2 separate regions of the Homo sapiens genome follow, and region 1 is linked to region 2. Evidence: promoter capture Hi-C in 16 types of primary human blood cells and fetal thymus (Javierre and others, 2016). All regions are on one chromosome and are shown on one strand. Each heading gives the region's core, a stretch centred on a gene start or on the middle of the fragment in contact. The rest is flanking DNA. Distances are from core to core; before and after follow the strand shown. Region 1 holds the start of SLC25A40 (solute carrier family 25 member 40). Region 2 holds the start of RBM48 (RNA binding motif protein 48).

Region 1 (5,942 bases), core at 3,135-5,634, 4.7 Mb after region 2:
AGTGGTTAAATTTGTCAGAAGCATACTCTGCAGATAAATGGGATATTAAGATGTTTTCACCGAGATTATAGAAACCAAAGTACGTGAAATGGTGAATTAAAAAGGCACCTAAAGTAATGATGTGAAGATAAATTAACTCATGTAGAAGATCGTTATGACAAAATCTTTTTTAGTGATAGAAACAGTAAATGTGCTGAAGACAGAAACCAGGACCTGAGGATTAAATATCATTAATTATAGAAAAGATAGTATGGGAAGATCAGAATTCAATAAATAAGACATTTTTTAGGAGAAAGTTAATAAATCAAATTCCATTGAAAATCCACAGCTTTGGATTTTTGGGAAATCCAAAGGAAAATTTGGGAACTTACACCCTTAATATGCTCCTAACTTCACTGGTCTACTTCAATCATTTCAGGGGTAAAGACTAAGTATGTAAAACCAAAAGGTCCCTCAACTATTATGTATGGCAGAAGTAATTCAAAATTTGTTTCTTGCAATTACCTCAGGAACTGCTGTGGAGATAGAAGAAAGAAGGTGACGGGGCAAGTAGTTCTTGCTTTAGCCTCTGTACTGCTGTTTTAGCCCAAGGGGTTCCCTTTTTACAGGCTTTACACATTGGACTTCTGAATATTATTTTGTTTAAAGGGTTCTACTGATAAAAACACAAATCTAAGTATCACTGATTTAGACCATTAGACCTAGAGTTAATGGGTTGTTCATCATATTTGAGAAAATTGTCATCAAACTGTATCAGATAGCTACTTTGAGCTACCTTTTTTTTTTTTTTTTGGACATAGGGTCTCACTGTCACTCATACTGGGGTACAGTGGCACAATCTTGGCTCACTGCAACCTCCGCCTCCCAGGTTCAAGTGATGCTCATGCCTCGGCCTCCCGAATAGCTGGGACTACAGGCATGCACCACCATGCTTGGCTAATTTTTGTATTTTTCAGTAGACATGGAGTTTTGCCATGTTGCCCAGGCTGGTCTTGAACTCCTGGCCTCAAGTCATCTACCTGCCTTGGCCTCCAAAAGTGCTAGGATTACAGGTGTGAATTACCAGCCAGATAGCCATTTGTAGCCATTGATTGCTAGAGGAACAGAATGGTGCAGGTACTATGTTGCTGTGGGAATTAAGAAGCTAATACTGCTCTAATTGGGCCATTTACTTTCTCTGGACCTCAAGTACTTTGTTTCTAAGATGAAGGGGTATTTTTTACTCAATGTCTAAGGTCCTTAACACATTAAGATACTCTTAATAGGTGTATAGTCAATAGGGTGGCAGGCCTAGAAAACATGACCTTTAAGAATGCTGTCATATGATCATTACCATAAATACAACTATTACAAGCATGTGACAGTGTTTTAGTTTAACAAAATGAATAGTAAAAAAGTAGAATAACTTTTCAGAGATAAGTAAATAAAATATATTAACAGTTCCAGGAAACCTGTTAGCACATGTTCTTCTGATAAGTTTCTAGTCTGGGAATCGGCTGGGCCTGGAGGGCTCATGCTTGCAATCCCAGCGCTTTAGAAGGCTGAGGTGGGCAAATCACCTGAGGTTAGAAGTTTGAGACCAGCCTGGGCAACACGGTGAAACCCTGACTCTACTAAAAATACAAAAATTACCCAGGAGTGGTGGCACATGCCTGTAATCGTAGCTACTCAGGAGACAGAGGCTGAGGCACAAGAATCACTTGAACCTGAGAGGAGGAGGTTGCAGTGAGCTGAGATCGCACCACTGCACTCCAACCTAGGCCATATAGAATGAGACTCCGTCTCAAAATAAAAATAAAAATAAATTGAAAAGTTACTAGTCTGGGAATGAAAGGATCAGTTTAGACATTCAAAGACGCAGACCTTCAGAAAGTCAAAGTCCAGCATGAACCTTTTAAACAGAAAAAAATCTTAATTACCTCATTTGCCAAAATTCAGCCAATATCAACCTTAATCCTATTAAGGTCCTAGAATTTTGCCTGAGTTTTCTAATTTCCCAATCATCTAATCAGTGTATAAGGTAGGAAAGAAGGTATTCCAGATTCTTAATGCAAATTTCTTTTCCTTTAATAACATTCATTCTGTTGAAACAACATCTGTATCACTCAGGAACAATTTTAACTGTGGTTTGCATGGCTGTTCTGTAGTAACATTCTTAACTGTTACACTAGTCCAGACAAACTTATGTAGCTCCCCAAGATTCATAATCAAGAAATTGCTGTTATCTGGAGGACATTCCAACATTACAGTAAGCAGTCAATGAGCAGTTCCACTAGGACAGGGGAGTCTTACACTCTAAGAACTTTACACTAGACTGCTAATCAGAGAAACCTGAAAGGTCTGTCAGTCCACAAAAGGTTAAAACAAATGGTTTTTTGTTAACGATAAACAGCTGATAAAAATGTTAAGCTTGGTGCTAATAGAAGCGTTTTCCAAAATGAAAAATTTAAATGATTACACAGTAGAAAGTACTAGTTACAAATTTTTCCTTCTATGCCAGTGTACGGTTTTCACTTACCCCTCCCAGATCCTTAATGTCCTTTTGAAGTTTTTCAGATATGGTGACAGAAGGTAAGTCAAGGTAAAATACTTTTCCCCAAAGTGGCTTACATTTGGATTTTTCTGGCCTGTTATCAGTTTTCAGAGATTTCAGAGATGGTCTGTTTTTTTCATTTTTGACTTGGATTCCACCTATTAAAGATGTTTAGAATCAGATGTTTTACACAGACACTTTTACTATTTTTAAAATATTTCATTATACAATATTACAGAATAAAAATCCTTACAACCCTACCAGTTTAAGTTATTAGCATTGAAATGTATTTCTTTGTAGTACTACTTAGGATAGAGGCAAAATGCCCTATATACTTTCACAGACCGCATATTGTAAAATAATAGTTGACTCAGCAAGAAATATTCGTGTGTTTATTCCTGAGGCACGGAACTATATAAAACTCTTTTGAAAGATTTTCTTTTTTTAGGATGTAAACTCCATGGGGATATTTAATACTCAACTATTTATTGAGCATCTGCCATTCTGCTGAACATTCAAAACTGGTGTTTAAACTTCATTTAGCGATGAAAGAATCCTCTGTTACGCAGAATAACCTAGTCCTCAAGGGTTTCAGACTGCTCAAGTTTTAGTTTCATATAAAGTTTGTCTGCATATTAACAACTAAACGGTCCATTTCACATACAATTTGTCTACGTATTAAGAACTTAACGGTCCATTACGAAGAACTAAACCTTTCATTATTTTCATTAGAAACAGATCTGAGATCCAAGCAACTGCTTTAAAAATTAATTTTTCAAACGCAATCTGTTCTTAAATTGGTAGTTACTACACACACACAAACACCTGTACAAAAAACTTAGGTGCTGGAATGTTTCACCAAATAAAGTGACTGAAAATGGAAATTTGCTTTTGTTTCCCTGTTTGTAATGTTGAAACCAGCAATGGGGTGTTTGAAATACAATGCTTTCCCCCAACTTATGAGGAAAGGAAAATAAACTTTCAAGGGTAAGACCAAAAATCCACCCACAATCACTCAATCTAATCCTGAAGCGAAAAGCCACGAGCGCGTCTGACTTTAAATTGAGGATGCAGTCCGTCGCCTCCAAGGGCCCGGGCGGAGGCTTAGCATATGCGAGAGCCCGGGAGCAGACAGCGCCGCAGTCCCGGCGAGGTCCCGGATCTGCACATTGTTTGCTAGTTTTCAACCGAAGGCACGACCGGGAATCAATCTGGGACCGCCGCTGTAAACGGCAGAGCGCTCGAGGGGCCGGGTCAGGATCCGTTCCTTCTTAGGCAAAACACTGAACGGGGGCTCCTTCCTTCAGACCCCAGAGGCCGGTCAGAAGAAAAGAAGCTGAGGACCCGGCGGGAGAAGTCTGAAGAATCAATGGTGGAACCACGAGGGGAGGAAAGGATTAAAGGGACTGCAGGCGGAGGAGGGGCTTCTTACCCTGGAAATGTCCTTTACTGTGGATCCTCATGGCTCCGGAGTTCATGGCAGTCGCCCGGCACCTACATGCTGGGTCCGGAGAAAGTGTCGCACCGGGCAGCCGCGAAAGCACGGCTTCCCCCGGCCTGTTGACAGGACGGCCGCCTCTCTCCTTCCGCCAGCTACGGCCTCTACGCAGTAGAGGTACCGCGTCTGCAGGTCGGGTTTCCGGGGCCGGATCCGGCTCCAAGGCGCGGAGGAGGAAGGCGCAAAGCACAAACGAGTGGGCTGCGGCGGTTGAAGATTTGAAAACGCGTCACGCGGCCGCGGCGCCGATACGCGCGCCCCGCCCCGTCTCACGCCACGCGCCGTGCCCCGCCTCGCGCTCGCCCCTCGTGCCTGCCTTCTCGCGCTGCGCGCCCCGCCCCCTCACGCCGCCGTCCTTCTCGCGCCTCGCTCTGGCCCTGCAGGTTGTGTTTCCGCCTCTACCCCGCCTCCATTCCGTTGCTCTCTCAGTCTCAGACCCGGGCTCTCGGTCCGCCGCTTCAGGTCTTGGCGCAGCCTCAGAGAGTTGGCGCGGCTCTGTGTTGACCAAACCTAGTGGATGCAGTTAGCGCCGGAGCCCGGCCCCGCCCGTCACCAGGGTTATTCCCGCCTTCTAGGTTTGCCAGGACTGCCGGCCCTGCAGCTGCCTTCTGCCCCAGGTATGCTAATTTTCCACTGGTCGGACGTCTGGGAAGCTGAAGGCGAGGGGCTTTGGCTGAGTCCGGACTCAGCTCTGGCCGGGCCCGGGGCCGGGGCCGGAACCGGAGCCGGACAGCGGCGGCAGCCGCAGCCCCTGCTCAGCGCGCCCTGGGTCGCACAGCAAGCGGGGTTTTCCCGCGGTCACTGCCGACCCCACCGGCTGAGGACAGCTGCAGAGGGACGTGCGGGAGTGAGGGCGGCCCCGGGGGGCGTCTGAGGGAGGGTCTGGCCAGGCGGCCCCGGCCTTGACGGCAGCGCCACCGCAGAACGCCTCCAGGTCACTTTGTGTCCTTGGGTAGTTGGCTATTTGCGCTGTCCTGTTGACTTTTATTGTATTCAGACCTGTTTTCTTTTAGTTGAGTGTAAGTTTATTTCAACAATGAAGGAGTGGAAAGTAACATCTCATTTTTTTTTCCTGTAAAACAGAGATTAAAGATCAAATTAAAATGCTTGTGAATATATTTTAATTTTATAAGTTGGAACATGCCTCTCCAAAAAAAAAAAAAAATCTGTTTCTTCAGGAGGAAGAGGATATTTTGAACTATTTTGCATTCCTCTACTCCAGGCCATAATAGGCACTCCTGTAGTGGTTGATTTTTTTACCTGGTAGCTCAAGGAAGTCAGAGTATCAGCGTTACGGTTTTGCAGGTAGGTACCTTAAAGAATAGACAAGGGTGGGTTGTGACAAGATTAGCTGGAGAACGCAGAGAACAGGTTTGCTAAGGGAAATGAGAGTTTGGTTTTAGACAGGTTTATGTTGAAGGGCCTGGGGCGACAGTCATGGAACTATGCTTATTAGACAGTTAAAGATGTTTATGACTCGAGAGAAATGTCTAGCAGAAGTGGACATGGGAAGAGGAAATAGAGATTGATTTGATATCTCTCCAATAAAATATTTCTGCATCAAGGTCTATTGATGTCAATCATGGGGCAATTCATTAGAGGTTAACAGATCTTGAGTGGTGGAAGGAAGTGTAGTTTGAACAAACATATTCAATATTGTAATTTCTATGGGAAAAAACTTATTTTCAAAATATAAGCTACAGAGAGCACAAAATGTTTATATTTACAGAAAGATTTAAAAAGTTGGGAAGCACTAATATAGAATGTAGTTAAAGCTTTGGGAGGAAATGAAATTGCCAAGGAGAGCATGTGAAATAAGAGAATTGATTATAAGCGTCGTTGATGAAATAGTGAAAGAGATGGAGAAAATGCCACAGAATTGGGAAGAGACTGCAAACATTGGAATCATAT
Region 2 (5,846 bases), core at 2,642-5,141:
GAACCCTGTGGTTCACAGTTACTGAATACTGTGATGGTTTACTTGCCTCTCCTACCACTAGACTGGGAATTGCATGATGACACACCTGGCAGAGTGCCTGACACACAGGAGGCATTTAGCAATATGCTTTCCATACCTTTATTTTCAGTAGTTTTTACTACATATGCCTTCCGCATTTGTAGTTTTTTTCTAGTTTCTTCAACTGTTTCAAATTCTGGAGCATAGCACACATGAAGCAATCCACCGAAGAAACTCTGTTCATCCATTTTTCTCTTGGCTGTCCTGAATGGAAATACAAGATAGCATAGTTTTTTAATCTAGATTTACTTGGGATGAAAGCTTAACTAGTATGCAATATCTGGATCTAAAGAGCAAAGTCCAGCTTTTGCTACGTGTATATATATCCTGTGGATTGGGAATTAAGATGCTCTGCTTGTGGACAGTATTCATCCCATTGATCGAGTATGTACTCGTAGAGCCTCCCCTTTCCTTCCCTTTGAGCCTCTTTGTTCCCTAGTCTTTAAACAACTAAGGACCCAGCTGGTTGGCCTGAAGTATGTAAACTGTGGTCATAAAATGGAGCTTTTCTCTGTGGCCCTGAAGAGTTGGTTCATACCCAATTAAGCTTTTTCAGCACTATGTATTTCTGTGATGGGATTCATGCCTTAAAAATCAGATGAAAGATACTATAATCATAAAACATTCAATAACTGAGGAACTATTAAATATATAACAATGAGAAAATGAGAAGAATGTTATTCAGTCAATAAATACTTACTAAACATCTATGACTGGCCAGGTACTACAATAAATTTAACTACTTCTATATCCAGGGATAATGATAAATACTTGTTGAGATTTCACCATATGCCAGGCAATGTCATAAGCGCTTCACTTGAATTAACACCTAAAAACAACACTGTAATGAAACTGAAGCACTGGGACATTATGTAACTTAGCCATGCTCATAGTCTGGTTTGAGGAGCAAGGATTCAAATCCAGATGTCTTACTTCAGAGCCTACCAGACTACGTACTATAGAAAACAGAAAAGCTCTAGAAAATGTTTCCCTAACCATGGGAGCTGGCAGGTTGGTTAAGAAAGTGAAATTACATATAACAGCAGCCTGAGAAAACCACACAAGACCCAGTAAAATCAAGTGCTTTTGTGGTAGACTATGAGTTCTACTGATAGCACAAGAAAGAAAATATGAATTGTAATAGCCAGAGAAGGATGGGTCTCAGAGCAGATTAGTGAGGAGAACAGAGATCAATATAAAAATAGATAAGGCACTGCATACTTCAGCCTTTTTGGAGCAGAGGATTATGTCACATAGAAGGCTGGAAAAAACTGAGTCAGTTTGCAGAAAGGAGTAACAGTAGAAACCACAATAGCTAATGTTTACTGTATTCTGACCAGGATACACCTTTATATGGATTATCTCATTTCATCCTCATACAACCCCAAGAAGTAGATAGGTCCCTTTACCATACAGATTTTATGGAAGAGGAAAAACTTAAACAGGTTAAATAACTTGCCCAAGATCATGAAGCTAGTAAGCAGTGGAAATGGAAAACTTACTCCAAACCCAACTTTTTTTTTCTTTTGAGACAGAGTCTCACTCCATCACCCAGGATGGAGTGTAGTGGCCCATAAGACTCACTGCAACCTCCACCTCCTGGGCTCAACTGATTCTCCTACCTCGGCCTCCCAAGTAGCTGGAACTACAGGAATGCACCAACACACCCAGCTTGATTTTTGTATTTTTACAAAATACAAAATACTGGCCATGTTGGCCAGTCTGGTCTCGAACTCCTGGGCTCAAGCAATCTGCCTACCTTGGCCTTCCAAAGTGCTGGGATCAAATCCAACTTTTTCTTTTTTTTTTTTTGAGACAGTCTCACTCTTGCCCAGGCTGGAGTGCAATGGCATGATCTTGGCTCACTGCAACCTCCACTTTCTGGGTTCAAGTGATACTTGTGCCTCAGCCTCCCCAGGAGCTGGGATTAAAGGTTTGCACCAACACAGCCGGCTAATTTTTGTATTTAGTAGAGTGAGGGTTTCACCATGTTGGCCAGACTGGTCTTGAACTCCTGACCTCAGGTGATCCACCTACCTCGACCTCCCAAAGTGCTGGGATTACAGGTGTGAGCCACGTGCCTGGCGTCAAACCAGAATTTTTTTTTTTTTTTGAGACAGAGCCTTGCTCTGTCATCTAGGCTGGAGGGCAGTGGCATGATCTCTGCTCACTGCAATCTCCACCTCCCAGGTTCAAGCAATTCCCATGCCTCAGCCACCTGAGTAGCTGGGACTACAGGTCCGCACCACCACACCCGGCTAATTTTTGTATTTTTAGTAGAGGAGGGGTTTCCATCATGTTGGCCAGGCTTGTCTTGAACCCCTGACCTCAAGTGATCTGCCTGCCTCGGTCTCCCAAAGTGCTGGGATTACAGGCGTGAGTCACCACGCCCAGGCTTCAAACCCAAATTTTTTTTTTTTTTTTTTTTTTGAGGCAGAGCTTCCCTCTTGTTGCCCTGTCTGGAGTGCAATGGCGCAATCTCGGCTCACTGCAACCTCTGCCTCCCGGTTTCAAGCGATTCTCCTGCCTCAGCCTCCCGAGTAGCTGGGATTACAGGCCTGCGCCACTAGACCCAGCTAATTTTGTATTTTTAGTAGAGAGGGGGGTTTCACCATGTTGGCCAGGCTGGTCTCAAACTCCTGACCTCGTGATCCGCCCACCTCGGTCTCCCAGAGTGCTGGGATTGCAGGCGTGAGCCACCGTGCCTGGCCAAACCCAACTTCTACTCTACCAAGCTACAGGACATTAAATTGTTAAGCATGGGAATGATGTGATGGATACAGTGTTTCAGTAAAGTTAACTTTTAAAAAGGCTGGAGGAAGATATGCTAGATTACGTTTTGGGGTAATTCAGTTATGAATGAGGGAAACTTGGGGCCAAAATGACAGAAATATGAATGGAAGAAATGAGGAAATGAGTCATTTCTTAACTTGCACATTACCTTGCACTTTGTAAGTTCATAAATTTAATAAGATAAACTTCAGTAAAGTCTTCTGCTGGGTATTCATCTAGAGCATTGTACTGTTCAATTGCACCATATAAAGCGAATCGCTCAACTAATTCCTTCATGACTCCCACAGCAGGAACTCCTTGTATTAATAAGTACTGAGATTCCAAATTGATTGTATATACCTGAAAGAAATGCAGAGTTATTAAACGTATTTCGCAAATAAGCCTAGGACGAATCTGCCTCTATTTTTTTTTAAAGAGAACTTTGAAAACAAGAAATAATCTGTTCAACCCAGTCAGCAAAAGAACACAAAATGAAATTTCTGCCATTCCTTCTGCATAAAGAATAACAGTCCATGTGAGAGGCTACCTAAGGCATATAACAGACTACCTTCAGTCGACATTTTTTTCCAGAAATTGAGTCGGTAGAAGTCACTGGGAACAATCACTCAACGAATATTCACTGAGTGCTTACCTGTGCCAAGTAGTACTGTAAACACAGAAGATCCAATGACTAAAACCAAGGCCTATTCTCGTGGAGTTGATGTTCTAATACTTGACCAAAGGCGTCGTGAGAATCTTTGGTAACTGACCGAGGGTTCTTCACGCCAGCTCTAACGAGAGACAGATCTGACGGAAGCCTTGTCGTGCCTTTATTTCCGTAGGCTGGTCATATGGCGCTAGCACTCACATAAAGCTACCGAGGAGAGCGAATGAAACCAAAATCACTTTACCTTCACAGCACGAGGCCGTCGTCCCTCTCGATATTTGGCCCGTGTGTCGCATACCGCCCTCTGGACGTGGTGATCAAATAAACTCCCTAGCTCCCCGCCGCTCGACGCCATCTTGCCTACTTTGATCCTCGCAGGGAGGACAACATCCGCCCTACTGAGCTCCCTTTTATCCAATAAGAGAGCGGGATGAGTTAAGGAGTGCCAGGATTGGCTGGAGAATCGACAGCGTCGGCCATCGTTTCCTGCGTGCGAAGATTTGATGAACGAGGTGCCGCCCCCGAGCGGCTCGGCGGAGAGGCGCGGTGGGTGACAGAAGCTTTCTTGTCCCACCCACTACAGGCTTACGGCAGGATGCGCAGCGGGGAGAGGGGGCGGGGCCGCAGGGGGCGGGGCCGATCGATCTCCTCCGGCTCCGACGTCCTCGGCCTGCCGGGTCCCGGGTCCTTTGCGGCGCTAGGGTGGGCGAACCCAGAGCGACGCTCCGGGACGATGTGGGGCAGCGATCGCCTGGCGGGTGCTGGGGGAGGCGGGGCGGCAGTGACTGTGGCCTTCACCAACGCTCGCGACTGCTTCCTCCACCTGCCGCGGCGTCTCGTGGCCCAGCTGCATCTGCTGCAGGTAACCTGCCGGCCCCGAGCCACCTGATCTTCAGCCTGGGGTCGGACGAGGCCGAAGCCTCTCAGGGACGCGGCGGGACACCGGCTGCCACCCGGGCGCCGCCGAAGCGCGCAGAGATCAGGGTCCCTCGACGGCAGGGCCCTTCTGGGTAGTCTCTGGATCCCACAAGTCCAGTGCAGCCCTGGGCTCGTCTTATCCCAGGTCTTTTCACTTGGTGAAACTGAACCTAGAAACGTCCTAATATTCTACCACTGTTTTTATAAATATTCCTTATTCCAGGCTGGAAAAGCTCCTGAGAAGTGGTTTGTTTTTATTATTTTAAAAGGTGTTTTCCTTGCCAGCCATTTCCAGTTAACCTGCGCTGCTGCCGTCCGGGCCGCGAGAGCGGGACGCAGAGTTGTTGGCGGAGCCCCTGTCGGTTCCCGGGGACTAAGCACCGCGTCCCATGAGCGGGAAAGGTTAATACAATGATGGTTCTGCCCTGCGTCGCTGACGCGGAACACAGCTGTAGTGTGTTAGGAACACATAACGTAGTTAAGATCACTTGAAGCTCTGCGATCAGTCGCCCTTCTGGACGTTGTGGTTAGGATGTTTCACAGTTCTAACCACTGGTGGAGATACAGCGTCCATATTTTCATAATTAAAAATAGAGGCACATGGTCTCACGAGTTTGAGTGTACTTATGGGGGCAAAAGGACGGCGTATTTGAAATCCTCATAAATCCTGGATGCATGGTACCCACCAGTGGCTAATCTATGCAATGAATAGAGTTTGCAATAATTTCAAGCATCCCTTCTTTCCACTTGAGTTACTTCCCCATACCTAGGGGAAGATATTTTTGGTCCACTGAAAACATGAGTTCAGCAGAATCCTCCTATCATCGTCGTTATTATTTTTTACCACTAAGTAGACAATCTTTTGGTTTTTGATGGGCTTTATGGCTAGAGACAAATCAGTCACTGTCACCAAGTTCCAGGTAGAAGTTGGTTCAGTGCTCTGTCAGCTTCGATGGGATTTTTCAACATGTTTTCAAATCTGCACTTAATAGTAGGAATGCTTTCTTACAGTAACTCTAATTTGATCCTAAGATGTAGTTGTTACCTTACATTCATCACTGTTTAAGAATTTAGTGGTCTTGATCTTTGTTTTAAATTTTGAGCCTTCGGGAAGTACTTATAAGAATTAATTCATGCATATCTTTTTGAAATGTAAATGTCTTTAGCCCTGGAACAAATTGCTGTTTCTGTTCAGCCCATATTAGCAGAATAGGTCAACTTTACTTTCTAATTATCAATGTAATAAGTTTATTACTTTATAGATTCCATAAATCTATACATTTATTCCTCGATGAATTATATAAATTTATAGAATTTATGTTTTATAGAAAATTTGGAAAGCATGGAAAATTATTAACAAGAAAATAAGTTACCCATAATCCCAGAACTTAGAGGTGACTAATGTTGACAG

What was found. The method cuts DNA at HindIII sites, captures the fragments that hold promoters and counts their contacts. A CHiCAGO score of 5 or more calls a contact.
Region 1: a contact is called between the fragment with the promoter of SLC25A40 here and the fragment with the promoter of RBM48 in region 2, in 2 of 17 cell types (non-activated CD4 T cells and total B cells). The highest score is 8.9, in non-activated CD4 T cells.

Annotation. Positions count from the first base shown.
Region 1 is chr7:87,874,802-87,880,743 of GRCh38, reverse strand. It overlaps SLC25A40 (solute carrier family 25 member 40), which reads left to right and starts at 4,384. Exons shown (of 12, transcript NM_018843.4): 1 at 4,384-4,648. It overlaps DBF4 (DBF4-CDC7 kinase regulatory subunit), which reads right to left and starts at 4,251. Exons shown (of 12, transcript NM_006716.4): 1 at 3,966-4,251; 2 at 2,519-2,691. The coding sequence starts at 4,011. RefSeq lists enhancers at 3,972-4,091, 4,279-4,788 and silencers at 4,152-4,411, 4,542-4,991. The HindIII fragment of the contact is 3,397 bases long and covers 2,412-5,808 here.
Region 2 is chr7:92,526,840-92,532,685 of GRCh38, reverse strand. It overlaps RBM48 (RNA binding motif protein 48), which reads right to left and starts at 3,891. Exons shown (of 5, transcript NM_032120.4): 1 at 3,762-3,891; 2 at 3,020-3,210; 3 at 137-282. The coding sequence starts at 3,872. It overlaps PEX1 (peroxisomal biogenesis factor 1), which reads left to right and starts at 4,166. Exons shown (of 24, transcript NM_000466.3): 1 at 4,166-4,379. The coding sequence starts at 4,251. RefSeq lists enhancers at 3,588-3,967, 4,568-4,747 and a silencer at 4,108-4,337. The HindIII fragment of the contact is 3,452 bases long and covers 628-4,079 here.